Regions from separate parts of the Homo sapiens genome. Here region 1 is linked to region 2. The links are contacts of gene promoters, found by promoter capture Hi-C in blood cells and fetal thymus (Javierre and others, 2016). All regions are on one chromosome and are shown on one strand. The core of a region is centred on a gene start or on the middle of the fragment in contact, and the rest is flanking DNA. Distances in the headings are between cores, read along the strand shown.

The links. The method cuts DNA at HindIII sites, captures the fragments that hold promoters and counts their contacts. A CHiCAGO score of 5 or more calls a contact.
Region 1: a contact is called between a fragment that was not itself captured here and the fragment with the promoter of EFNB3 in region 2, in 2 of 17 cell types (endothelial precursors and activated CD4 T cells). The highest score is 6.1, in endothelial precursors.

The regions. Positions count from the first base shown.
Region 1 is chr17:7,964,923-7,970,071 of GRCh38, reverse strand. No RefSeq gene overlaps it. Among named protein-coding and RNA genes, the nearest start is that of GUCY2D, 35 kb to the left of the region's middle. RefSeq lists a silencer at 2,034-2,234. The HindIII fragment of the contact is 609 bases long and covers 3,168-3,776 here.
Region 2 is chr17:7,703,641-7,708,609 of GRCh38, reverse strand. EFNB3 (ephrin B3) reads right to left here and starts at 3,408. Exons shown (of 5, transcript NM_001406.4): 1 at 2,890-3,408; 2 at 360-652; 3 at 83-175. The coding sequence starts at 3,011. RefSeq lists enhancers at 2,139-3,030, 4,715-4,794, 3,924-4,815, 4,816-4,969 and a silencer at 4,725-4,969. The HindIII fragment of the contact is 8,602 bases long and covers 1,613-4,969 here.

The DNA.
Region 1 (5,149 bases), core at 2,223-4,722, 260 kb before region 2:
TTGCTCTTGTCACCCTGGCTGGAGTGTAACAGCATGATCTCCACTCACTGCAACCTCCGCCTCCCGGGTTCAAGCAATTCTCCTGCCTCAGCCTCCCAAGTAGCTGGGATTACAAGCGTGTGCCACCACACCTGGCTAGTTTTTGTATTTTTAGTAGAGATAGGGTTTCACCATGTTGGTCAGGCTGGTCTCGAACTCCTGACCTCAAGTGATCCACCTGCCTTGGCCTCTCAAAGTGCTGGGATTACAGGCGTGAGCCACTGCACCCAGCCCGGCACAGATGAACCTTGAAAGCATTATGTTAAGTGAAAGAAGCCAGTCACAAAAGACTGCGTATTGTATGATTCAATTTAGATGAAGTGTCCAGAATAGGCAAATCTGTAGAAAAAGAAAGTAGATTGTTGTGGTTGCTCAAGGCAGGGAAGGATGGGGAGGTGGCGGGTTGATGGCGAAACAGTGCAAGATTTCTTCTTGGGATGATGAAAATGTTCTACAGTTGATTGTGGTGATGATGGTGCAACTCTATGAATATATTAAAAATCATTGAATTGTACACTTTTATTTGTATAGTGTGTGACTTATATCTCGATCAGACTGTTAGAAGAATGGTTAGTGCCAGGAGGGGAACTTCTCTATGCAAAGCCTTACAAAGTGGGGGAAAAAAGGTGAATAGCAGTATGGGCATCATCTGGGAGCTCAGAAATGAAGAATCTCAGGGGTTTCCCAGTTTTTGTTTAAATAGTCAAGAACCGACTGAGGATGGTTTCCCAGATCCACTGAATCAGAATCTGCATTTGAACAAGATCCGCAGGCAATTTGTATTCACAGAGGCCTGTGAAGCACTGGACTAGAAAACATTGTACACTGCAAATAAAAAACTATCCAGGCTGGGCGCAGTGGCTCACGCCTATAATCCCAGCACTTCGGGAGGTCAAGGCAGGTGGATCACCTGAGGTCAGGAGTTCGAGACCAGCATGGCCAACATGGTGAAACCCCATCCCTACTAAAAATACAAAAATTAGCAGGGCATGGTGGTGGACACCTGTAATTCCAGCTACTCGGGAGGCTGAAGCAGGAGAATCGTTTGAACCCAGGAGGCGGAGGTTGCAGTGAGCTGAGATCTTGCCACTGCACTCCAGCCTGGGCGTCAGAGCGAGACTCTGTCTCCAAAAAAAAAAAAGCCTGTAATCCCAGCACTTTGGGAGGCCAAGGGGAGAAGATTGCTTGAGTCCAGGACTTCGAGACCAGCCTGGGCAATATACTGAGACCCCTAACTATACAAAAATTGTAAAAATTAGCCGGGCATGGTGATGCACGCCTGTTGTCCCGGCTGTGGGGGAATTTGGGGGGAGCTGAGACAGAAGGATAGCTTGAGCCGGGAGGTTGAGGCTGGAGTGATCCGTGAACTGCACTCCAGCCTGGGCAACAGAATGAGACTCTGTTTCAAGAAAAAAAGAAAAGAAAAGAAAAAATAATAAACAAGTAAATAAATAAAAACTATTGGGCCAGGTGCGGTGGCTCACGCCTGTAATCCCAGCACTTTGGGAGGCGGAGGCAAGCAGATCACCTGAGGTCGGGAGTTCGAGACCACTGACCAACATGGAGAAACCCCATCTCCATCAATAATACAAAAATTAGCCTTGCGTGGTGGCGCATGCCTGTAATCCCAGCTACTCAGGAATCTGAGGCAGGAGAATCGCTTGAACACAGGAGGTGGAGGTTGTGGTGAGGCGAGATCACATCATTGCACTCCAGCCTGGGCAACAAGAGGGAAACTCCATCTCAGAACAAAACAAAAAACAAAGCAAACAAACAAACAAAAAAACAACTATCCCTCGTTGGCCTGGTTCTGTCTCAAGTAGTTTTGCAACTCATGTAAGTGCAGTAGATAGTCTCCAAAGGTGGCTACTATTTGAGATAGGAAATATCAACACTTATGATGTTTCTGACACCAAAATATGTGTGTGTGTGTGTGTGTGTTGGAGTGAGAGGTCCCCACACATCAAGCAGTTCTGCAGCAGATACTAGCTGGGTGTCAATAATTCAATTCAATTCTGACACTATCCACTTGAAGATAGCATCAGATCCCAGACTGTCCAGCGGAGTTGAGGCTTCAGATTGGCTGACACTGCAAATCCTGAGTGAGAGTTATCAGGTTAAGTCCAGCAACCCACAGAACCATGAGCAACAATCACATATTTTTGCTGAAGCCACGAAGTTTTGGGGTGGTTTGTCACATAGCAATACATAGAGCAATATGTTATCCTGAGGCCAGTCACCTGACAACTGCCTGAAACCAGAGGTAATGGTTAGCAAAAACTTCTGTAACCAAATCTAGTGCTGTATACCAGGAACTAGTGATTTGTTTTATTACCTAAATTTAAAACCCCTTAATATGCCTCCCAGTTACCTGGTTCAAGACACCAGAAAAGAAAATGAGAGGAGGGTCCGGGTGCGGTGGCTCACGCCTGTAATCCCAGCACTTTGGGAGGCCGAGGCGAGTGGATCAAGAGGTCAGGGGTTCGAGACCAGCCTGACCAACATAGTGAAACCCCGTCTCTATTAAAAATACAAAAAAAATTTAGCCGGGCGTGGTGGCAGGCGCTTATAGTCGCAGCTACTCGGGAGGCTGAGGCAGGAGAATGGTGTGAACCCGGGAGGCGGAGGTTGCAGTGAGCCAAGTCGTGCCACTGCACTCCAGCCTGGGCGACAGACTGAGACTCCGTCTCAAAGAAGAAAAAAAAAAGAAAAAGAAAATGAGGGGAGGAGAAGAACAATGGAAAAATGGGAACAGGCTGGGCCCAGTGGCTCACACCTGTAGTCCCAGCACTTTAGGAGCCCGAGGCAGGTGGATCACCTGAGGTCAGAGTTCAAGACCACCCTGGCCAATATGGCAAAACCCTGTCTCTACTAAGAATACAAAAATTAGCCTGGCATGGTGGCGCATGCCTGTAATCCCAGCTACTCAGGAGGCTGAGGCAGGAGAATCGCTTGAACATGGGAGGCGGAGGTTGCAGTGAGCCAAGATTGCACCACTGCACTCCAGTCTGGACAACAGAGCAAGACTCTTTCTCAAAAAAACAAAACAAAACAAAACAAAAACAGAAGAAGAAGAAGAGTAGGAACAGCATAACAACATGAAAGCCCGAAAAATAAATACCTAAGCTTTCTTAAACAATACTTTACATCTATACTTACGTGATGTACCTCTATCATTAGTCATTGTGAATGACTGATGTTTATAAGTGACAGAAAAACAGAAATGAAAGACAATTCCAAATAACTGCAAATGTTATAATTAGATTACAAAAGAAATGCCTTTTTTTTTTTCTTTTTGAGGCAGAGTCTGTCTCTGTTGCTCAAGCTGGAGTTCCGTGGCACGATCTCGGATCATTGCTACCTCCGCCTCCTGGGTTCAAGCGATTTTCCTGCCTCAGCCTCCCAAGTAGCTGGGATTACAGGTGTATGCCACCATGCCCAGCTAATTTTTGTATTTTTAGTGGAGACAGGGCTTCACCATGTTGGCCAGGCTCATCTCGAACTCCTGACGTCAGGTGATCCACCTGAGGAGGCCTCAGCCTCCCAAAGTGCTAGGATTACAGGCGTGAGCGACCGTGCCTGGCCGAAATGCCTTATTTTAAACACTTAAGAAAAATAAAGTACATGTAATGTCAAAAAAAATTCCATTTATAAAAGCGATTAAAAAATCTTTAAAATATCTGAGAAAAGATTAACACAAAATGTTCAGGACTTATAAATTGTAAAATCATGAAGCTTTAAGAATAAAAACAGAAAGGGATGCATGGAAAGAAAGAACAAAAATGAGAAATGCACTATTATCAAGAGGAAAATTGTCCTAAATTAATTTGTATTATATCTTGTTTCTTTGATGCCTTCATTTATTATCTCTAGTAATTTTGAGGTGCTTTTCATTTCATTTGCATAACATGATCATTTTATTTCTTCCTTTTCTTTATGTATATCTTTCTTTCTCTTCTCAAATAGCTTTGTCAGAATTTTTAGAGCTACGTTGAATAGTAGTAATAAGATATCCTTGTCTTGTTCCTATTTTAAAGAGGAATAATTCATGTTCTCCATTAAGTGTAATTTTGACTTTTGGTTTTCAATAGAGCCTTTTTGTCATGTTAAAGAGGCAACCTTTTATTGCTTTTAGGGAGAGTTTCCATGAAGAATTCCCTCTGGCATTTGTGGAAATAATTATATGAATTTTTTCCAATAATATTATTGGTTATGTGGAAAATTGAGCTTTAGTGGGGGATGTTTATAAGTGACAGAAAAACAAAAATGAAAGACCATTTGAAATAAGTTCAAAAACAGAATTGGTTAAAAAGTACATGTTCTTTTTTTCTTCTTTTTTGAGACAGGGTCTTACTCTGTCACCCAGGGTGGACTGCAGTGGCATGATGATAGCACTGATCTCAATCTCCCGAGCTCAAGCAATCCTCCCGCCTCAGTTTCCAGAGTAGCTGGGACTATTTTTAGTACAGATGAGGTCTGCTATGTTGCCCAGGTATGGAACTCCAGAGCTCAATCGATTCTTGCGCCTCAGCCTCTCACACTTTTGGGATTACAGGTGTGAGCTACCACACCTTTAAAATTCCTTTAAAAATTATACTTTATTAAAATTTATACTATATTCTGATTGCTAAAATTTTATTTAGAATGTTTGCATATCTACTAATTTATGAGATTACCATGTAAACTATTTTTTATGCTGTTTCATTAGGTGTGATGATAAAAATCTGTTTCATCAAAGGAAATGAGACAATTTATTTAAAAGGTAATATAGGCCAGGTGTGGTGGCTCACGCCTGTAATCCCAGCACTTTGGGAGGCCGAGGCGGGCAGATCATGAGGTCAGGAGTTCGAGACCAGCCTGACCAACGTAGTGAAATCCCGTCTCTACTAAAAATACAAAAATTAACCCGGCATGGTGGTGCGTGCCTGTAATCCCAGCTACTCAGAAGGCTGAGACAGGAGAATTACTTGAACGTGGGAGGCAGTGGTTGCAGTGAGCCAAGATCACGCCATTGCACTCCAGCCTGGGTGACAGAGCGAGACTCCATCTCAAAATAAATAAAATAAAATAAAATACACTACAATATAAAGAGCAATAAAATTAAAAAAAA
Region 2 (4,969 bases), core at 2,159-4,658:
GGGCTGAGACAACTGCCCCAACCATGATCGTACTGCCCCAACGTCCCTTCGTGCCCAGGAGGTGTCCCCCAGCCCCACTCACTTTGTCCCACTCGGAGAAGCACCTTCATGCCTCTGGTTAGGCACACACCTCCCTGCAGGCTCTCCAGGCCCTCCCGGGTCCCATCCGATGTGGCTGGGAGAGAAAAGCCAGAGGAAGAGGTTGGCACTCCAGAATCTAGCCCTGATTCTGGCCCCACACCCTGGTGTGAACACTGCCTGAGGGCACTGGGATCTCCCTCTTGGCTGCAGGGGTCCCCCTCCCTCTCTGCTCAGTATCAGGAGCCCCCCACTCAATCGTGCCCTCTGCCCAGCAGTACCAATGATGTAGTAATCGTGGTGCGAGCGGAACTCGTGGCCCCAGAGATTAGGGCTATACTCCTGGAACTTGATGGTGAAGCGGAGATCCAGGTCTGGGCGATCACAAGTGAGAAGGAGGTTTGGGGCAGGGGGTGCCTCACAGCGCCGGCCCTGAGCACCCCCTACCAGGTACAGCTTGTAGAACTCATAATTAGGAGAGGAGTGAGGGCCAGGAGGCCGGGCCCGGGGGCAGAGCAGGTCTAGCCGGTCCCCGATCTGAGGGTACAGCACATAACCACCCTCTGCCTGGAACCTATGGGGAGGAGGGTAAGGTGGACAAGGAAGAGATGTCAGAGGCCTGGCCCCCAGAACTTTCCTTCCCTCACCCCACAACCTTCCAGGACAGCAATTCTCAGCTCACGCTTGCCCGCCTTTGTCTGAGTGGAAAGTCTCTTCTTATAGAGCAGGCACCAAGGACTCTGTGCATTCACATTGGAAGCAGCAGGAAGCCAGGCTCAGGGGTCTCCTGCCCCTTGGTGTGCCCAAATGCACTCCACTCTTCAGCCCGCCCTCACCACATGCACACCGCCATCTCCCGCTCCATCACCAGCCCCGTTGCCATGGCAACAGGATGCCAGTTACCAAGGAGCTGGCCTCTCTGGAACCACACAGCCCACCCCTCCCAGGTGATTTCACTATTCCATGGCAGCCAACCATGCGGGCAGAGCCTCCCCTCCTTCAGGCCACCACTGAATTTCAGGGATTTCCGGGCAAAGGGGGCGGCGGTTCAGGGAGGGGCTGTGTGGAGGGTGGTCCAGACCAGTGTCCTAAGTTAGCCAGCTAATAGCACAGAAGGCAAATGCCTGGTTTGGCCACGACCATCATTGGGGCTGATGGGAACCAGGGTCTAGGAACCTGCTGCCTGAGTCATTCTCCCACTCAGAATCCCACACTGGGTCTTAGACTTCTGGGGCAAGTGCTCTATTGCTTTGGAAAGGAAAGGAGTTGACTTTTCTAACCACAACCAACACACTTCACCATCTCCTTGGCCAGTGCACCCAGGCATCCACTGTCCCAGCACAGCCACAACTTGCCAACCCCTGCAGCCCCTTCCTGGACATCAATAGCTGCTGAGACAGGGTCTCAGGACTGGGTCCCAGGGGACTGCTACTTGATATCTTCCCAGACTCCCAAGTGTCCCACTCCCACCCCACATCCGAAAGAGCCCCCAGGACACCCTAACTCCCTTTTCTCTACCCTGTGAAAACAAGCTTATGTTCTCAAGCTACACACCTGATACTCACATTGCAGCTGGGAGTTGGCAGGTGGGTGACTGAGTACAGAAAAGACATTGAGATTATACCCAAAGAGATCCAGGGAAAAGAGAGGGAGGGATGGCAGAGCAGAGAAGTGTGAGGGAGGCTGGGAAGTAAAGAGAGGAACAATAATCCTAGCTCTCCTTTAATGAGCACATAATACATTCAAACACCTTACCGCTAATCCTCATAATAGCTGTAAGGATTGAGGATACAAACTCAGAAAGGTTAAGTGACATGCCCAAGGCCACACAGCTGAAAGCGGCAGAGCTAGGATTAAGACCAAAGATTTGATGAGCTCCAAAGCCCACCCCCTTCCCATGGCCTCACACAGTCTCCCCAGGGAAGTAGGAATTTTTCAAAACACAGAACTCTTTTATGAGCGGGAAGTGGGATCCGCATGTAGGCAAGGGACCCAGGTGACCTCCCGAAGGTTCTGTCCTACCCAGCGTGGCTTGAAGTTTCATCTGACCCCTGGCCTCTTTTCAGAGCAAAGCTGGCATGCCATGGAACAGAGGGTCTGATGGAAGAGTTTGCAGCAAAGATTGGGGGAGGGGGCAATGGAGTCCTCCAGATGCAAAAGGGAAGGAAGGAGGGTTCAGGGGGCTCCAGGCTTCTTCCAGCAAGATGCCGGCAAGCCAGGAAGGCAGGAATATGTTCTGGCTGGGAAATCGTTCAGCCAACAGTTCACTGACCCTCTGGCTGTGGGGAAGAGTTGGGAGACAGACTGTGAAGAGAGTCAAGGAGCCTTGGGGAAGTTGTCCCCAGAGCCCCCAAACGGAACCCCCTTGCCTCCCATCTCGGATGCGCAGTCCCTCTGGGGGAGGGAGGCACCCTGCCCTGCCTTCCCCTCAGCGACTCGCAGCACCTAATCTGCAGCTCTCTCCTGAGAGCTGACAGTAACCAGGCTCCCTCCAAGCCCAGCCCCCGACGCAGGCCTCCCACAGATCCAAATACCCACCTCACTGCCCTCCCGGCTACCCATGAACTTTCTTCTCCTTGCCCCTTTGGGGTCTCCAAACTCCTGACATCCATAGCACCACCCGCATCCAGCTCTGCGTGGGACCCGGAGTCTGGCTCCCAAGATCACCTGTCTAGTAACCCATCACACATCAGAGCACCAGCACCTTCCCTCCCGCCTCCTCCCTGCCCACAGAAGCCCGCCTCCAAGCCCCCAGAGCTTCCCTACCCACTGCCCTAGGGTCTGGGATCTCCCCAGCCGCAGGCCACTCACCTCTTATTCGCCGAGTTCCAGTAGACAGGCTCCAGGCTGAGCCCAGACACCAGCCCCAAAACCCCCAGCAGCAGCAGGGCCCCGACTCGCACGCCCCCCGGCCCAGAATGGGGGGGCCCCATGACCCCGCCAAGGCCTGGGGGGCGGGGCACCAACTCCCCCAAAGTCGCCCACCCCCCGGGGTGGCTGCCTTGGCTGCCTGGCTCTTCAGCCCGGACCACCCCGGTAGCTGATGCCCCCAGCGCCCACGCGGACCTGCTTCCTGCTGTGCCCGCGCCCCCGCGGCAGAGCGCTCAGCCCCACCAGAGCCCTTCCAGGGGCCGTCTGCAGGCGCCCTACGCGCCCCCGGCCCACGCGCCAGCACCCCGGGATCTGTGAGCCCGCCTAAGTGGGGGACTGGGGGAGCCGGGGACCGGGCGGGGGCGGCATGGGGCGCCGGACCAGGGAGCGAGGAAGGGGGCGCCGAGCCGGAGCCCCAGCCTCGCTGGGATTGAGGGCAGCGGGCTAAGGGAGGAAACCAGTCCCGAGCCCAGGAGGGGGGAGTTAAAGGAGAGGCGGGGAGGGGCAGAGGATGGTGGAGGGAAAAACCGGAGCTGGAGCTCGAGGCGGAGCGGGCGGCAGCATCCCGCGGCCCACGCCCCCCACACCTCCCTCACCTCGCGCACCTCCCGCCCGCCGCCCCGCCTCAGCCCCCGGCGCGGGCTGTCACGCCCCCTTTGTCTCTCCGAGCCTCTGGCTCCGGCTGAGTTCTGCCCGGCTCCCCTCCTGCCCTCCGATCGCCCAAGCTGCTGGAATCTTCCTCTCTCGAATCCAGAAAGGCTCTCGCCCTCTCCACCCCGAGGAACCCACCCCTTTCGCTCCCGCAGCCTCCTCCTCCATCCCAAAACAACACCGCTGCTCCCGGCAGGTTTGGAGAGAATAATAATAACCTTGAAGGCTTGGCGCTTTACAAAGTGCGGCGGAGCTGATCGTCACGACTACCTGTGTGAAGTGGGAGGGGCAGAGCTAACGATCCCATTGCAGAGATGAGGAAACTGAGGCTCAGGGAGGCCCCGTGACTTGCCCAAGGTCACACAGGAAGTCTGGGATAAAGCTAGAAACCAAACCCAGGCTGCGCACCTCCCACTCTTGGGGTCTCTTTTGTCACTGCTCCATGGACCAAGTGCTGTTGTTACCTGGGGGTTAGTGAAAAACAAGAGTTTAGGGGATACACTTGGGTCTTTCCTAGATGGCTGGGGGGAGAAGCGGGGCTGGGAGAAGAAGGGGCGTACCTACAACCCCAAACCGGCGCTGCGCAGGAAGGGCTGTTTCCAATTATCCTGGGGGAAGGGAGGAGTTGCCTTTTCGGGTGTAAGAGCCCTGGCTTTCAGCACCTCTGGGCAGGGGTGACATTCCTCTCCCTCTCAAGCCTCCCCAGGCCTTTCGTCCCTTCCCTTTGATTGTGAGGTCCAAAATCACATCCCCTGCTGGCAGTATTTCTTCAAAGTCCCCCCATTCTCAGTGTTTGGGAAGGTGTTGGGGGGAGGAGGGAGGAGTCACTGCTTCAAATGACACACTCGTCCCCCACCCCCAAAGACAGAGCAGACAAATGGAGAAACAAGCCCAGCGACAGCCGCTGAATGAATAAGACCCTCGCCGCGCCCCGCATGGAACAGCAATATCAAAGGTGACGACTGTATTTTTCAACACCTTTACTCTTTTATGTGTGTCCTTGACTCTGGCAACTGGGTTGTCTGCCTCCTGGGGAGCCCCGGGGAGCGGAGGAGAGTGCTCCTGCTCCCCTCAGAGCTGAGTAATGGTCCCCATGCTGCTGGAGAATGGCAAACAGTGTGGAGTGTGGGCGACAGGCGCCCTGTCACTGTCTGCACAGTCTCACACGGTCACACCCAACAGTCTGACCCAGCTCCTGCTCAGCCCCGCTCACCCTGACCCCTGCCGCCCCCACCTTGGGAGTGAGATTTCAAACAGGTTTCCCCCTTCAGTTTACCAAGTTGCCTAGCAACCAACCAGTCAATGGCATGAAGCCCCACCCCCACCCACTTGACTTCACACCAAGCTCAGCCGCCCCATTGGCTCCTGC